Regions from separate parts of the Homo sapiens genome. Here all the other regions are linked to region 1. Evidence: promoter capture Hi-C in 16 types of primary human blood cells and fetal thymus (Javierre and others, 2016). All regions are on one chromosome and are shown on one strand. Each heading gives the region's core, a stretch centred on a gene start or on the middle of the fragment in contact. The rest is flanking DNA. Distances are from core to core; before and after follow the strand shown. Region 1 holds the start of AMTN (amelotin). Region 2 has its middle 20 kb from the start of TMPRSS11B. Region 3 overlaps TMPRSS11E (transmembrane serine protease 11E).

The links. Contacts are between HindIII fragments. The CHiCAGO score rates a contact against its expected background, and 5 or more counts as called.
Region 2: a fragment that was not itself captured here is called in contact with the fragment with the promoter of AMTN in region 1 in 1 of 17 cell types (total B cells); the score reaches 5.7 in total B cells.
Region 3: a fragment that was not itself captured here is called in contact with the fragment with the promoter of AMTN in region 1 in 1 of 17 cell types (total B cells); the score reaches 5.1 in total B cells.

The regions. Positions count from the first base shown.
Region 1 is chr4:70,515,716-70,520,550 of GRCh38, forward strand. It overlaps AMTN (amelotin), which reads left to right and starts at 2,854. Exons shown (of 9, transcript NM_212557.4): 1 at 2,854-2,939; 2 at 3,048-3,116. The coding sequence starts at 3,063. The HindIII fragment of the contact is 2,056 bases long and covers 1,770-3,825 here.
Region 2 is chr4:68,263,227-68,268,061 of GRCh38, forward strand. No RefSeq gene overlaps it. Among named protein-coding and RNA genes, the nearest start is that of TMPRSS11B, 20 kb to the left of the region's middle. The HindIII fragment of the contact is 742 bases long and covers 1,551-2,292 here.
Region 3 is chr4:68,497,570-68,502,404 of GRCh38, forward strand. It overlaps TMPRSS11E (transmembrane serine protease 11E), which reads left to right. Exons shown (of 10, transcript NM_014058.4): 10 at 1-35. Among named protein-coding and RNA genes, the nearest start is that of TMPRSS11E, 53 kb to the left of the region's middle. The HindIII fragment of the contact is 1,647 bases long and covers 1,330-2,976 here.

The sequences.
Region 1 (4,835 bases), core at 1,604-4,103:
AACCCAAAGAAACTTACAACTAAAGCTAATAAGAAAGATTAAGGAATGCCTGGAACTAAAGGGCTAAGAGATGTGTCCTATAGTTCATAAAACACTTTAATGAATTCTGATGTTCTATGTCATTTTGGAAACATAAATTATCTCACTGTTTTTGCTGATGTCTCCTTGTCTTGGAATGATTTAAGAATTCTTTTCCTTTTATAATATGTATTTCTTGACTCCCAACTCCGTAATCACATTATTGCAAGTTGTCTGCTTTCAGACTTAAAATTTCTTGCCTAAGAAATTACTCAGTGTTTTTAATTTTGCTTGTTTATTTTGATCTAATCCCACTGACTGCTCAGTTTCCTGGCTAGGGCATGTCCGATTCCCGCTGAGGGTTGGAGTCATGTCTGCAACAAGCAATTGACTCACTGTGAGGTCCCTAAATCACCTGATGCCCAGTCACGAGGAATTATTCAATTCAAATAAACTATTGAATAGAACCACATTCTAGACTAACACTATAACACAGGTCTCCTCACCTAAGCCAAGAACAACAGTGACATAAAATTCAACTCTACCTCCACCCAAAAAAAAAAAAAAAATATATATATATATATATATATACGTATATATATATATACGTATATATATACATATATATGTATATATATACATGTATATATATACGTATATATATATATACGTATATATATATATATATATATATATATATGACGCTCCCAACCCTCTACATTCACTGAAAATAATGCCCAAATAAAGTAGATGCCCAGTGTCACGGAGTCCCTCTCTTGCAATGACCTGGTTGAATATTTCATATTCCCCCAACAAAACCTAAGCTCTTTAAGGGCAGGGTTTTTGTCCCTTCCATTAATTGTTTTATCCCAGACACTGACACAATGTTGGTGAACAAAGAGTGAATCTATGTTAAATGAGAGCTGGAAAAATGAATTGATTGAATAAAAGAAACAATGAATTTGCCTGTGAAAGCCCATGAGAACCTAAAGTTGCTTTCCTTCCACATCCTTCAGCACTATGTCTCATTGCTCCTCTCACTATCAGCCACTTTAACATGCTAGTCTGTCTTGTGGATTATACTTATTCTCCAAATCCACCTAAAGCCCAATCTCTTCTCTAAAATCTTCCCTCAACTCAATCTTGCTCTGTTTCCCCACAGTATATGCCTTTACCATTTATTCGTCAACATTCGATGACCATATGATGCTTTAAAATATTACAAACATGAAAGACAAGAAATATAAGATGCGGCCCCAGGAACTCTCCATCTAGTTCAAGAGAAACAAAAAGTCAAGAAATAATAAAAAAGCCATATAAAGTAATATCTGACCAAGTGCCAAAATCAGTGATAGAAACAAACCAAAAAAAGCTATAGGTAGTTAAAATTAGATATCATCTCCAACCCTGTCTTCCACTGCTATCCTCACCCCATCTTGTTCCAGTGACAGAAAGCAATGTCACTACTTCAAATCTAGACCTTTGATCAGCCTGGGTGCTCTCCTTGCGTTCTTCATAAATTTTTTTTTTATTCTTCAAATCCAAACTCAAGGATGATCTCCTCTTTTAAGCTTTTCCTGTCCTTTTGCCCCCAACAAAATTCACCACACTCTTTCTTACACCTGAATACTCCTATATTTGCACATACTTGTTGATCTTGTATTTCTCCTCCTACATAATGTTCCCCATTCCTAACAGAGTATCAGAGTAACAAACATTGATTATATAGATTAATTGAACAGTTAGAGAGAAGCTTTGAAAAAAAAATGTATCATCTCAGTTAATTTTCCATTCATAGACACTCTATAGGTTTTTTTTGTTTTTCTTTTTTAAAGGTCAAATCCCAAATCCTGGTGCGACACAGGCTCATCATTGAAATGGTCTCAGAAATTGATTAACAGACCTCCACCTCCCTTTGGGGCATATCTCAAAAATTCCAGGTGAAGCCCACAGCTTCATGGTAAAATGTTAAGTAGCACTTAACTGTTCTTCTTGTAAAAGAAATCTCAGTTGATTCCCTGTGTTTTGCTTAGGTTATAGTATCATTTTCCCTGTTTAATATAAAGCAAGCCATTCACCATTTGGCCATAAATGTACATATCCTCTGATACATTACTTAAATGTACATACCCTCTGATACATTACTTAAATGTACATACCCTCTGATACATTACTTAAATGTACATATCCTCTGATACATTACTTAAATGTACATATCCTCTGATACATTACTTCTAAGAATAACACCTACGAAAATACTCCCATATGTGTGAAAAAAAGGTTTTATAAGAATGGTGCTTGTGATACCTTTGTAATTACAAAATAAACTGGAAATGGATTAAATGTTCATCAAAATGTGATATAATGATGTGTACCCATTAAATAAATAAAATAAACCTGTATGTACTAACACATAAAGTTGTCCATTATTTGTTAAGTAAACATAAGTTCCAGAGCAATCTACATAGTAGACTTCATTTTTTAAACCTTGTACAGAGCCCTATATTTTGATGTTTGATTTATGTATTCATACTTACATGATAAAACACGTACATCTGAGAAATCATTTGGGAAGAAGAAGGAGGTGAAGAAGCATTTAAATTATTTTATTGTCTGCATCTTTTTTTAATTACATAAGGCCTGTCTCCTTGAAACACCTTCTATTCAAATGGTAGACATTGGGTAACATAATGTCTGCAGCTAATAACCCACCTAATGAAGTGTTGGGAAATGAAAAAAAAACAAATGATTTAACAGACAGCTAAATCCTGATTGGTCTCTCAGTTTCCAATCTCCTGGAACTGAGTTTAAATTTCTTCTACAAACACATACATCATTGAAGGGTAAAATTTTTCACCAGAGTAAACTTGAGAAACCAACTGGACCTTGAGTATTGTACATTTTGCCTCGTGGACCCAAAGGTAACATTAATTGACCATGTTTCAAGTAGAACTTTTGTTTTTAAAGTATCATTTTCTCTTAAAAGGAAAAAAAATACATGGAAGAGTAACACTTTTTTGTTGTTGTAGGTAGCAATCTGAAACATGAGGAGTACGATTCTACTGTTTTGTCTTCTAGGATCAACTCGGTCATTACCAGTAAGTATGTTATGTTTGTTTTATATGCCAGCCAGTTTCAACAGCATCTCTAGCTGCAGACCTACCTCTCTCCTGCCCTCCATCAAAACTGCTCTGTTTTGTGACTCATTCCCTGAGAGTGTCCAGTGTTTATTTTCCAAGACAGAAAATGACAAGCTAATAAGCTGTTGGTACATATTTCAATGTACTTGCATTTTTTTAAATGCATCCACTCCATCGTGGTAAAAGGTCAATTATTTTGGCAGAGCAATAGGCTAGAAATTAGGAGAAAAATGAATGTGTTAAGTGGATGATTATTTTATTTTCCAAAAAGAAGTTTTTTCTTGGCAACTAGTTATTTGCTCATGAATAAAGAGGTGAACTATATTTTCTAATTTTTCTACTTGGAAATGCTAAATATCTAGATTGTATAAATTCTAAAAAGACCACCAAAACATATGATATCAAAGGCATATGATTAAAATGATCAAAATTTTTGACTTAGAACATTAAATCATAAATAGTATTCACATATAACAGGAAAAAATTAAAAAGCCCTATAACTCCAACATTTACTCCATTATTTTGTAGACATAGGGATGAATGGTTTGGATCTCTAGGTGGACTTCTCTTTGACTGTTCAAGATGGTTCAAGACCATTAAGAAAAAAATTACAATATACTTGCTATGAAATAACAGAATAAAAGAAAGCATACTTAGTTGGGCCTCAAGCTTACTCAATACTTCTGCATCCATTCGTACAATCAACAAATATTTATTAAAAACTTTCTATATGCCAGACATTGTGCTAGGTGCTGAAGAAACAATAGTGAGAAGGGAAAAAAAGGCATAATCCTTCATGGTGTTCACAAGGATTGTAGACATTAATTTTTTTTTTAACTTTTTTTTTATTTTTACCAATGTCACTTGCCAATTTTTTTATTTTTTACTCAAATGATTTTTAAAGAAATGTTAAATTATAAATAATAACTGTGATTATTTATGTGAAGGAAATGAACAGGGTGGGATTATGCGGGGGGAGGATGAAGCAAGATACGGTAGCCAACCTCCTTCTTACTTTATCCCAAATACATACTACATACGTGTGTGTGTGTGTGTGTGTCTGTGTGTGTGTGTCCTCCTTGAAAGAAGTTGTCTGTAAAAGTTTAATTTTCTAAACAAGGTAAAGTATGAAGTTAATTTTTTTATAAAACAAATGGTTCTTTCACTTCGTCAAATACATTGACCGAAAGATTCTTCAAAATAGTTTCTCTAGTATATTTAAATTACCACATAATTGGTGAAAACTCAAAACAAGCAAAACTTTCCAGGAGTGCAGCTCTCATGTGAGGTGGGCTGAGGTGGAGCAGGCCGGCTGTGCAGGCCACAGCAGATTGCTAATAGACAATGAGAGCAGCTAGAGAGCTAGTGGGGCAGGGCAGCAGGGAGGCGACACTGAAATGTCTATTCAGTATGGAAACAATACCAAATGAAACATCACGACACATAGACAAGGTATTTTTTATTATTTGTAAATGAATGTATTGAGTTAGCATAAAGGTAAAAAGAGTGAATCCATTTGCAAATGTGGACACATACAACAGCCTAGCAATTATTTTCAGTAGATCAAAATTTTGAGGATAGGTACCAGATGGAAAACACAATGAGTAGAAGAAATAAATACAAGACAAATCAAATTTACAGAAAGTGAAGGCTCTAGAAGAAAACAAGATTTTATTC
Region 2 (4,835 bases), core at 672-3,171, 2.3 Mb before region 1:
TATTTGGTATAAAAATTATACAGGAAGCATTGTCAAATATGAAATGGTGCTTGGTTTTCTTTGGGCAGTGTTTGTATAAATGTGTTATTGATATGTGTTCCAAAACTTTCTTAAACTCCTATAATTCTGATGACTTAGTATATGTTATTAAAAACTATAATTGTTATGTAAAATTGTTGTATGCCACAGGAGTAATCAAAATTTCTAGTCAATTGTAGCTTTAATAGAGGCTGCCCTAAGATGTTTTGTCATCCATGGACAATTGTTTTCTAGTTTTCATCCTCTTCAAAAGGTGGTTTATAATCAGCTATAGAACTTTCAGGTGCTCTTGAATGCAGGTTTCTGACAACTTTGGAAATTATGACACTAGAATAGAGAGAAAAACTTTCAGGACTCATGGAGAGCCAAAATGTTTATGAATATCAAGCAGGACAGGAGTTAACTTAATAGAAATTAATAGAAGGCTTATGTGATCTTTTTTGACTTTTTGCTTAAAACATTGCTGATCTTTTATCTTGTTTTTTAGAGTCAAGGAAACTTTTCTTTTGAGCTATTTACAGCTTTTAATGACTGATTATAGTATACTCCCATGAACAAAAGGTGGAGCATATTTGTTTCTCTCTACCTGATTTCTCCAGAATTTGGAGACTATGTGTGAGTATTCTTAACTTATGGCAATATAGTTATTTGCGTAAGTGCAATAACAATGTTTTATTTTTCAATAGGACACAATTGGAGAAACTCGTTATTTTACCAAGGCCTTGACTAGAATGGTGTGCTTTCCTTTAAAGAATCAAATTTAACTTGTAGAACCAATAAAAAGCCCTTGGGAAAACTGGCCTTATACATTGTCTACACAGTCCCTGTACAGGGTTCCTGACCTACAGTAAGTAAAGAATGTCACTTTCTAATAGCCTCAGAAGCCCCAAATTACCTTGGGACCTCAAGTGGAGAGGAATTTACCCAACTCATGGGTATTTGAGGGTACAAACCTATGGCTGGGATTGGTTTTAAAAGTCTTATCTGAGATTACTTCTATGGAACAGATTTCCATCAAAGCCAATTTTTAAAAGCCTATGTAAAAAAATAATTATTTTTGCTGAATTTATAGAAATAATCAGGCCAAGTATAATAAAGCAAATCAGTCTTACCATGATTTATCCTTAGTAAAAATGGGAAACTGGAGAGAGAAAAAAATCATGTTTCAAAAACTGTGGTACACCTGTTACTAGACCCTAGTCTCATAAATTGTTTTGGAGTTTTTTTTTTCCTGAGATTTAAACTGACCCTACTTTTTTCCTGTGAACCAACCAGTGATTTCTGGCTGCTGCTCAGGAGAAACAGGAGAGATGCATAATGTAAAAATATGGATCAATATTCTAATTCTGAGCATGTTGGAATCAGCTAGCAACCCATATCAGCTTGGTTTCAACAATTGCCCAGTTCATGGTAAGCATTCTTATTTCATTTAGTTGGGGTAATTTTACTTATTTTGCTTTACTATTGTGGAATATATTGCTGTTCTACTCTTTGTGTAGGAATGCAGGATAAGCTTACCAAATGTTTTCTTAAACTGAACACTTATTAATTTTCCAGATATCACCTTTTGTTGGAACTCAAGAGTTATGAGTGGCCCTTAACATACCGATGTTTTCTAACTGAGCTGCTCTCTACCCTGAATACAAGAGACCTTAATAGTTAGGTAGGACTATCATTGCCCCTGTTCACCATGAATAAGTTACAGAAGATGAATCTTCATCCCTCTGCAACCCTTAGTATTAAGGATTCCCTTGTAAAAGGGAAGGGGGGAAATATGTCAGAGACATTTGAACCAGAGCAACTTCATCTTGAGTAGGGGCTGTGTAAAATAAGGCTGAGAGACCTACTGGGCTGCATTCCCAGGAGGTTAAGACGTTCTAACTCACAGAATGAGATAGGAGGTTGGCCCAAGATACAGGTCATAAAGACCTTGCTGATAAAGCAGGTTGCGATAAAGAAGCCAGCCAAAACCCACCAAAACCAAGATGGCAATGAGAGTGACCTCTGGTCATCCTCACTGCTCATTATACATATTATAATGCATTGACATGCTAAAAGACACTCCCACCCACGCCATGACAATTTCCAAATGTCATGGCAATGTCAGGAAGTTACCCCATATGGTCTAAAAAGGGGAGGAAACCTCAATTCTGGGTATTGCCTACCTCTTTCTCAGAAAACTCATGAAGAATACACCTCTTGTTTAGCAAATAATCAATAAATAACTGTAAGTATCCTTAGTCTAATATCCCAAGCTTCTGCTCTGTCTATGAAGTAGACATTCTTTTATTCCTTTACTTTCTTAATAAACTTGCTTTCACTTAAAAAAAGTTCATCATATTCCACAGGGTAAATGCATTAGGATAGCATTCAAGGTTCTCCATAACTGTCTACAACCTGCTTTTTCTATCATATTTATTAGTTCTCCAACGAAAACCTACTTTACTTCATTAAAAAATGATATTCCTATTTAATGTCCCTAAGATATATGATAACATTTTTCTCCTTCATTTACTTTATATTTTACTTCTTATTGTTATAAGTTCTTACTATTTTTCTGTTAACAGGAAAATCAAACTCTAAAATATTTTAAAGAGTTTTATTCTGAGGTAATATGAATGACCATGAGCCCAGAGAAAACACAATCTCAAGAAGTCCTGAGAAAGTGCGCCCAAGGTGGTTAAAGTTTGGTTTCATACATTTTAGGGAGGCAGGAGTTACAGGCAAAGATATTAATCAATACACGGAAGGTATTCATTGGTTTGACCTCAAAATGGTGGGATATCTTGAAGGGGGAGCGGCTTACAGTTTATAGGTGGATTCAAAGATTCTTTAATTTGCAATTGATTAAAGGAGTAAGGTTCTCTCTAAAACTTAAAGTCAGCAGAACAAATTGTTTTAAATGTTTTAAGTCAAGATAAAGATGTAGCAAGATAAGGATGTGGCAAGATTGATGGCCTGTGGGTGAGGCTTCACACTTGCCTTGCATGGCCTTAGGACTTGTTTATAATTTACTATCTTACTGCAGCAAAGTATCTGTTATGTCAGTCTTAAGATGTCTATTTTAACATTAATGCTAGTCAGCTGTTATGCCTAAACTGCAAAAGGGAGAGAGTATAAGGCAGCATGTCTGACCTTCCTTCACATCATAGCCAAGATTTCAGTTTTGTCTTTTTTTTGTTTTGTTTTGTTTTGTTTTGAATTGAGGTGAAGTTTCACTCTGTTGCCCCGGCTGGAGTGCAATGGCGTGATCTTGGCTCACTGCGACCTCCAGCCCCCCGGGTTCAAGTGATTCTCCTGCCTCAGCCTCCCAAGTAGCTGGGATTACAGGCATCTGCCATCATGCCCAGCTAATTTTTGTATTTTTAGTAGAGACAGGGTTTCACCATGTTGGCCAGGCTGGTCTCGAACTCCTGACCTCATGATCCACCTATGGAATTATAGCTGTGAGTCACTGTGCCAGGCCAGGAATTCAGTTTTTAAGGTTTTTCTCCCCTTGGCTAAGGGAGAGGCTTAGGATTTTACTTTTAGTTTACAGTTCTCATAAAACACCCTATTTTTTCCTGCCAATGAATCCTACCCATTTTTCAAGATCTAGCTCAGATTTTAGCTTTTTAGAGAGACCTTTTTAAGCACCTTAACGCCCTGTGATTCTTCCATATATCAACTCAATTCTCACAGCAACGCTATGAGGTAGGTATTATTACCTGTTATTTTATAGATTGTTAAACTGAAGCATGAAGAGGTTAAATAACCTGCCAAGCATTTCATGATTAGTATGTGACAGGTGAAATTCAGACCCAGAAGATCTGCTCCAGAGTCCTTGCCATTGCCTGCTCTACTCTTTTAATTATTCTAAATTCCTAGAGAAGAAGAAAATATGGTAAAGTGGAAGAAGATACACTCTGAAAATCTGGCTGCAAATTTGAGTTGGGTTGTTTACATTCTATATGACCTTGGGCAAATTACTTAAACTCTCAGAGTCTCATTTTTCGTTTTTAAAAAATAGAAAATTGTGAAGACGAAGTTAAAAAGATATATCTAAATTTCCAGACACATAATAAGTATTATGTATTGTGTATTCAAAGAGAGCCAACAGCCTTTGAAAAGACTATAATGGTGAGAAAATTATGACAGTGAAAGAGATCTAATCTAACTGACTCCATCTTGCCTATAACCTCCAAGCTGCCTTTGTTCATTCTTGGGCATAGGCCAAACTAACTCTGGGAGGAATTTAGTTTATAATTTAACTTTGGAGCAAAGGTGATAACAGCGCTTCCCTAAACAAATTGCCTTCTTGCTGGGGGGACCAGACTGCCTTCATAAAGCTAACAAATGAGACACAAGATTAGAAATTATGACTCAGAAGTCATGCAGCTAGAGGCTACAACCTCCCCAGTTGTTCCTATGAATAACATAACTACTGCAAAACCGAACATTGGTGTTCAAGATATTTTTTTAGACCCTATGTTCTGATAGATCAGCTGGTACAACCCAGACTGGTAAACTGGCTCATCTGATCTTGTGGCCTCCACCCAGGAACTGACTCAGCACAAGAGGACCCAACTAATCAACATTCCCCATTTCCTAGTTCCTGCCTGCCAAAGTATCTGTAAAAAACCCTAGCATCTGAATTTGAGGGGAGGCTGATTTGAGTAATAAGAAAATTCTGCTCTCCCATTTAGCTGGCTCTACGTGTATTAAACTCTTTCTCTATTGCAATTCCCTTGTCTTGATAAATCAACTTTATCTGGGAAGCAGGCAAGAAAAACCCACATCTTTTTTATAAAAACAAG
Region 3 (4,835 bases), core at 903-3,402, 2.0 Mb before region 1:
ATGTCAACATATAACAATAAAATATAAATCACCCATTTGCTTGACATTATGATATGATAATCCACAAAGAAGGGGAAGATGGGAAAAATGTTACTAGTCAATTTATTGTAAATTTTTTTAAAATTTGAGGCTAGGATGAAAATTAATTTAATAACAATCAGCATGCTTATGTACTAAAATAATTGTGTTGTGGAATGGGAGGGAACGAAGAGTTCAAACAATTGACTGGAAAGGTTTTATTCATCTAAGACTTTCCCAAACAGCAAATCCTTGAAGGGAATGAGATCCAGGTGTTAGTGTACAGTCTAGTCATGCAACTGAACTGGGGCTCAGACCTCTATTTTGAGATGATTGTAGATATTTTTCTTCCCCTGCTGCTGTGTTTACAGTTCATACATGGTTAATGGTCCTGTTAGACTCCTCTTCGCTGAGATGGAAAGATACCATAGAGAAAATATCCTGGAAGCTGCCTCACTGCTGCATCTAGTGTGACACTGAATGGCTAACTGCCTGGATAACAAAACTGAAGAGTAAAAGCATGATATTGGCCACCTTCATGATTTTTAGTTTTGGTAAATTATTACTGAGCTGTTAGAGACACAGCTTTCAAGTAATCCAGACCGTAATGAAGTTAGGACTGGTACCATGATGTACGGCATGTTAATGGTGAGATTTCACCAAGTCTGTCCTCATTGCATATAGCTACTCATATAAGTTCTATATTGTACAATAATTACCCTGAAAACCAGTATTGCCACGAAAAATTTAAGTTTATTGATCTGAATAACACTGGAGTATGAACTGATAACATTTAGGCACTTGGCAAAAATATGAAAACTGACATGAATTGATAGTGCTAAATATTTTGCATAAGCTATTTTTGTTTCATTTAGCAAAATGCTCTGGGAAAAAACAAAATTGAGGAAAACCTTGAATTTTAAGCAAGGATATAAGTACCTTTAAAACTACTCTCAGTGTTCTGTTAAAAATGGATTCCTCTTGTTTCAGTGTATTCTGTAGTTGGGCCTCTAGGTGGCACCCACAAGCTGTAGGAAGCTATGGGGAAGCCTGACATCAAGAAGGATGTCTAGATCTGTAAGTAATAATGAGAACTGTACCTGAAATTAGAGTCTCGTGAAACCAAAAGAATACAGTTTTTCTTTGCAAATGGCGTTTAAAAATTAATTCGTGTTGATTTACATCATTATTCGTATTTTTCAAATTTCTGGACATTTGATTCCAAACTAAAATAAAATTTATGTTGCATGATTTGAGGAACTCCCTCTGCAAAAGCACCTGGAGCAATTTAAATTAAGAAGAAATTTTAAAAGCTTAATTTTGCAATGACATCTTATTCCTAAGAGAAATACTTTTGATATTTCCTTCTACAAAGGATTTGAGAAATAGAAGTTTGGGTCAAAGTGAAAATATGAGCGATAGTTCAAACTTTATGTACATAGAGAAATAGGTAATACATTTCTAAAATGGTAACTTCTTTTGAAAAGTAATTACCAAAGGGTTTTATCTGCATGTCTGTGTTAACTGTTTCATTGGAGATAGTTAAGAAGATGTGACGATAATATTTATTACTTTTTTCAAGAGGGCAGGCAGTTCCTCTTCTATATCTTCGATCTCTCTTCCTACAGCACTAGTAAAGTACTCTGTATATAACAGTCCTTCAATAAATGTTGTTGAATGACTCTTTTATTTTTACATTATGCAGAAAACATAGCTTTATTATTATTTACACATTGATTTTTAAAAGTAATCCCAGATTTTACACTGAGTGAATTAAGCCGGTTACTATTTATCTAAGCCTATAATCTCACCCGTAAGATAGAGATGATATTTGCTCAAATGATTGTTGTGGAAATAAAACTGTGAATGTTTAAAAAGTGCTTAGCACAGTTCTTGGAACATTAGTAGGTGTTCAAGAGACCATAGTAATAATAACTGTTGCTATAATGAAACTACACTCTTGTTTTAAAAAATATGGTATTTGATTATAACAGGCTGAATACCTTTTTTTTTTGAAATGACAAGATAATTAGACCAACAAAATGTGCTAGTTAAAAAAATTTCTGATTCTACAAAAAGTTTTACTGGGATAATTCCGAAACATATTTATCAAAGTGGTCTGTCAATGTGAGGGTTCATTCTAACTTTTGACTTCAATTTTAAAAAATGATAAACTTTATTAACCACCGAGTGGCTGGATTATATCAAGATCTATGGTGTAGTTCAAATGTCGCCTCTTCCCTGAAGCCTTTTTTTACTTCCTCAAGTGGATGTACTATACGTTTCTTCTGAACTTCCTTACCATTAATTTTTTTTATTTTCAGATAATCATTGATTCAGATACGGTTAAGATATAACTGTAAGATATAATTCACAGAGATTCTGTGTACCCTTTACTCAGTTTACCTCAATAGTAAGATCTTGCTTAGGTGTAGTATAATATTACAATGAAGAAGTTGACATTGAGACAATCCATTAACTTTATTAGGATGCAATCAATTATATATGTGTGTGTAGGTGTGTGTGTAATTAGTTCTATGTAATTTAATTACATATGTAGATTCATGTGATTACCAAGATACAGATAGTTTGTTCACAAGGCTACATCACGCTACCGACAGCCATCCAGCTCCCTCCCTAGGCCTGTGTCTAGTCTCTAATCCCTGGCAACCACTAATCTGCTCTCCATCTTTATAATTTTTATTGTTTCAAGAATGGTATATAAATATATTATACAATATGTAACTTTTTCAGGTTGGCTTTTTCGCTCAGTATAATTTTCTTGAGATCTGTCCAAGTTGTTGTGTGTGTCAGTAGTTAATTCTTTTTTTATTACTGAGTAGTATTACATGATAGGGCTGTACCTCAGTTTGTTAACTGTATACCCACTGAAGGGCATTTGGATTGTTCTCAGGTTTTGGCTATTACAAATAAAGCTGCTATGAAGATTTGTGTGTAAGCTTTTGTGTGGACATAAGTTTTATTTTTCTGAGATTTATGGCCTAGAGTATGCTGGGTCATACGGTAAGTACATGTTTAGATTTTTAAGAAACGGCCATATTCTTTTCACATGGCTCCTTACTACTTGTAAAACTCTCTGTACTTAGAATATCTACCTGTGTATTTCACATGTGCAGACAGATGTGATTTCAACAACTAGACTGTAAACTCCATGAGGGTGGGGACACTAACTGGTTCATTTTTATATCCTTCACAGTTCACAGGAAACTATAATATTGTTTATGGCAGTTGTTCTATAAAGATTTATTAAATAAAAATAAAGAGTAATAAAAGCAAACAAATAAATATACGTGAAATAAAAAAGAAGAAATGGCTTTGGGTAGAAAAGAATGAACAGTATTTCCTTCATGAAGGTATTACTGCTCAATTTCTGTAATTCTGCATGGACTCTACCATGGCACTTCCATGTATCTTATGTTGGTTGATATAAAGTCTGTTTTTCACCTTTCCACAGGGTACACAATCAAACATAGACTAAAGACATGGTTGATATGGAGAATCTTTATACCTGAATTTAGTTTCTGATACATGTTATATTTAAGAGTTTTCTGACACATCTGTATCAGCTTCTACTGTATTTGTGGAATGGATTCCAGTTTAGGAGCACAATCAATAAATATTTGTTGCTCTTACTTTTTATAACTATGATTCTATAATTTGTCCTAATGTAATTTTTATTATATAACTCAAGGTGGAGTGAAAGACAGAGACCTGTGAAATGTAATCAGAAGTTCTCTCTTAATTGTCTCTAACACATTAATCAGTACCTCTTTGGCGTAGATGTAGTCAGCTTAAATTTTACAATCACTGTACTCACTGCCTTGCATATACCCCTCACCTGCTTGTTCTCTTGCTCCACCACTCTGTGACACTTGCTTTTTACTATGATCCTGGTAAAATTTAACTCTCCACTTACTGTTTTTAAAAACTAATTAATTTCCCCCAATTTTATTAAAGTATAATTGGCTAATAAAAATTGTATATAGTTACAGTGTAAAATTTGATGTTTTGATATATGTATACATTGTGAAATTATTTAATCAAGCTAATTAATATATTCATTACCTCAATACTTACTATTTTTTAAAAGAACATTTAATATCTATTCAGCAATATCTACTTTTAACAATTTAAAAATACTCAATACATTATTATTAACTGTAGTCTCCATGCTGTAAATAGGCCTCCAGAACTTATTTCTTCTATATAACTGAAACTTTGTACCTTTTAATCAATATCTTCTCATTTCTACCACACTCCAGCCTCTAGCAACCACCATTTTACTCTCTGCTTCTATTAGTTCAGCTTTCTTAGATTCCACATATAAGTGAGATCATGTAGTAATCAGCACTCTGTGTTTGGCTTATTTCACTTAACATAATATCCTCCAGATTCATCTATGTTGTCACAAATGACACGATTCCCTTCGTTTTTAAAGCTGTATCATATTCCAATGTGTGTATTTCTTTATTCTTCCACCAATGGACATGTAGGTTGATTCTATATTTTGGCTATTGTGAATAATGCTACAATAAACATGAGAATACAAGTATTTCTGTACCAAAAGTGAAAAACAGAATGGTTGTATGGTACTTAAAGTATGGTTTCTACTGAATATTTCAATTAATCACTGCTGAGATAACCAAAATAGTGTGTAAAAAACAAGCAAATCAGCAAAACCAAAATTGCACTTTTTCAAAATGTCAGATAAATGACTAATCTTTTAACTAGACTGAACTCCCATAAAGGAGATGATTCACATTTTAATAATAAAGTCAGATATAATAGTAAAGACA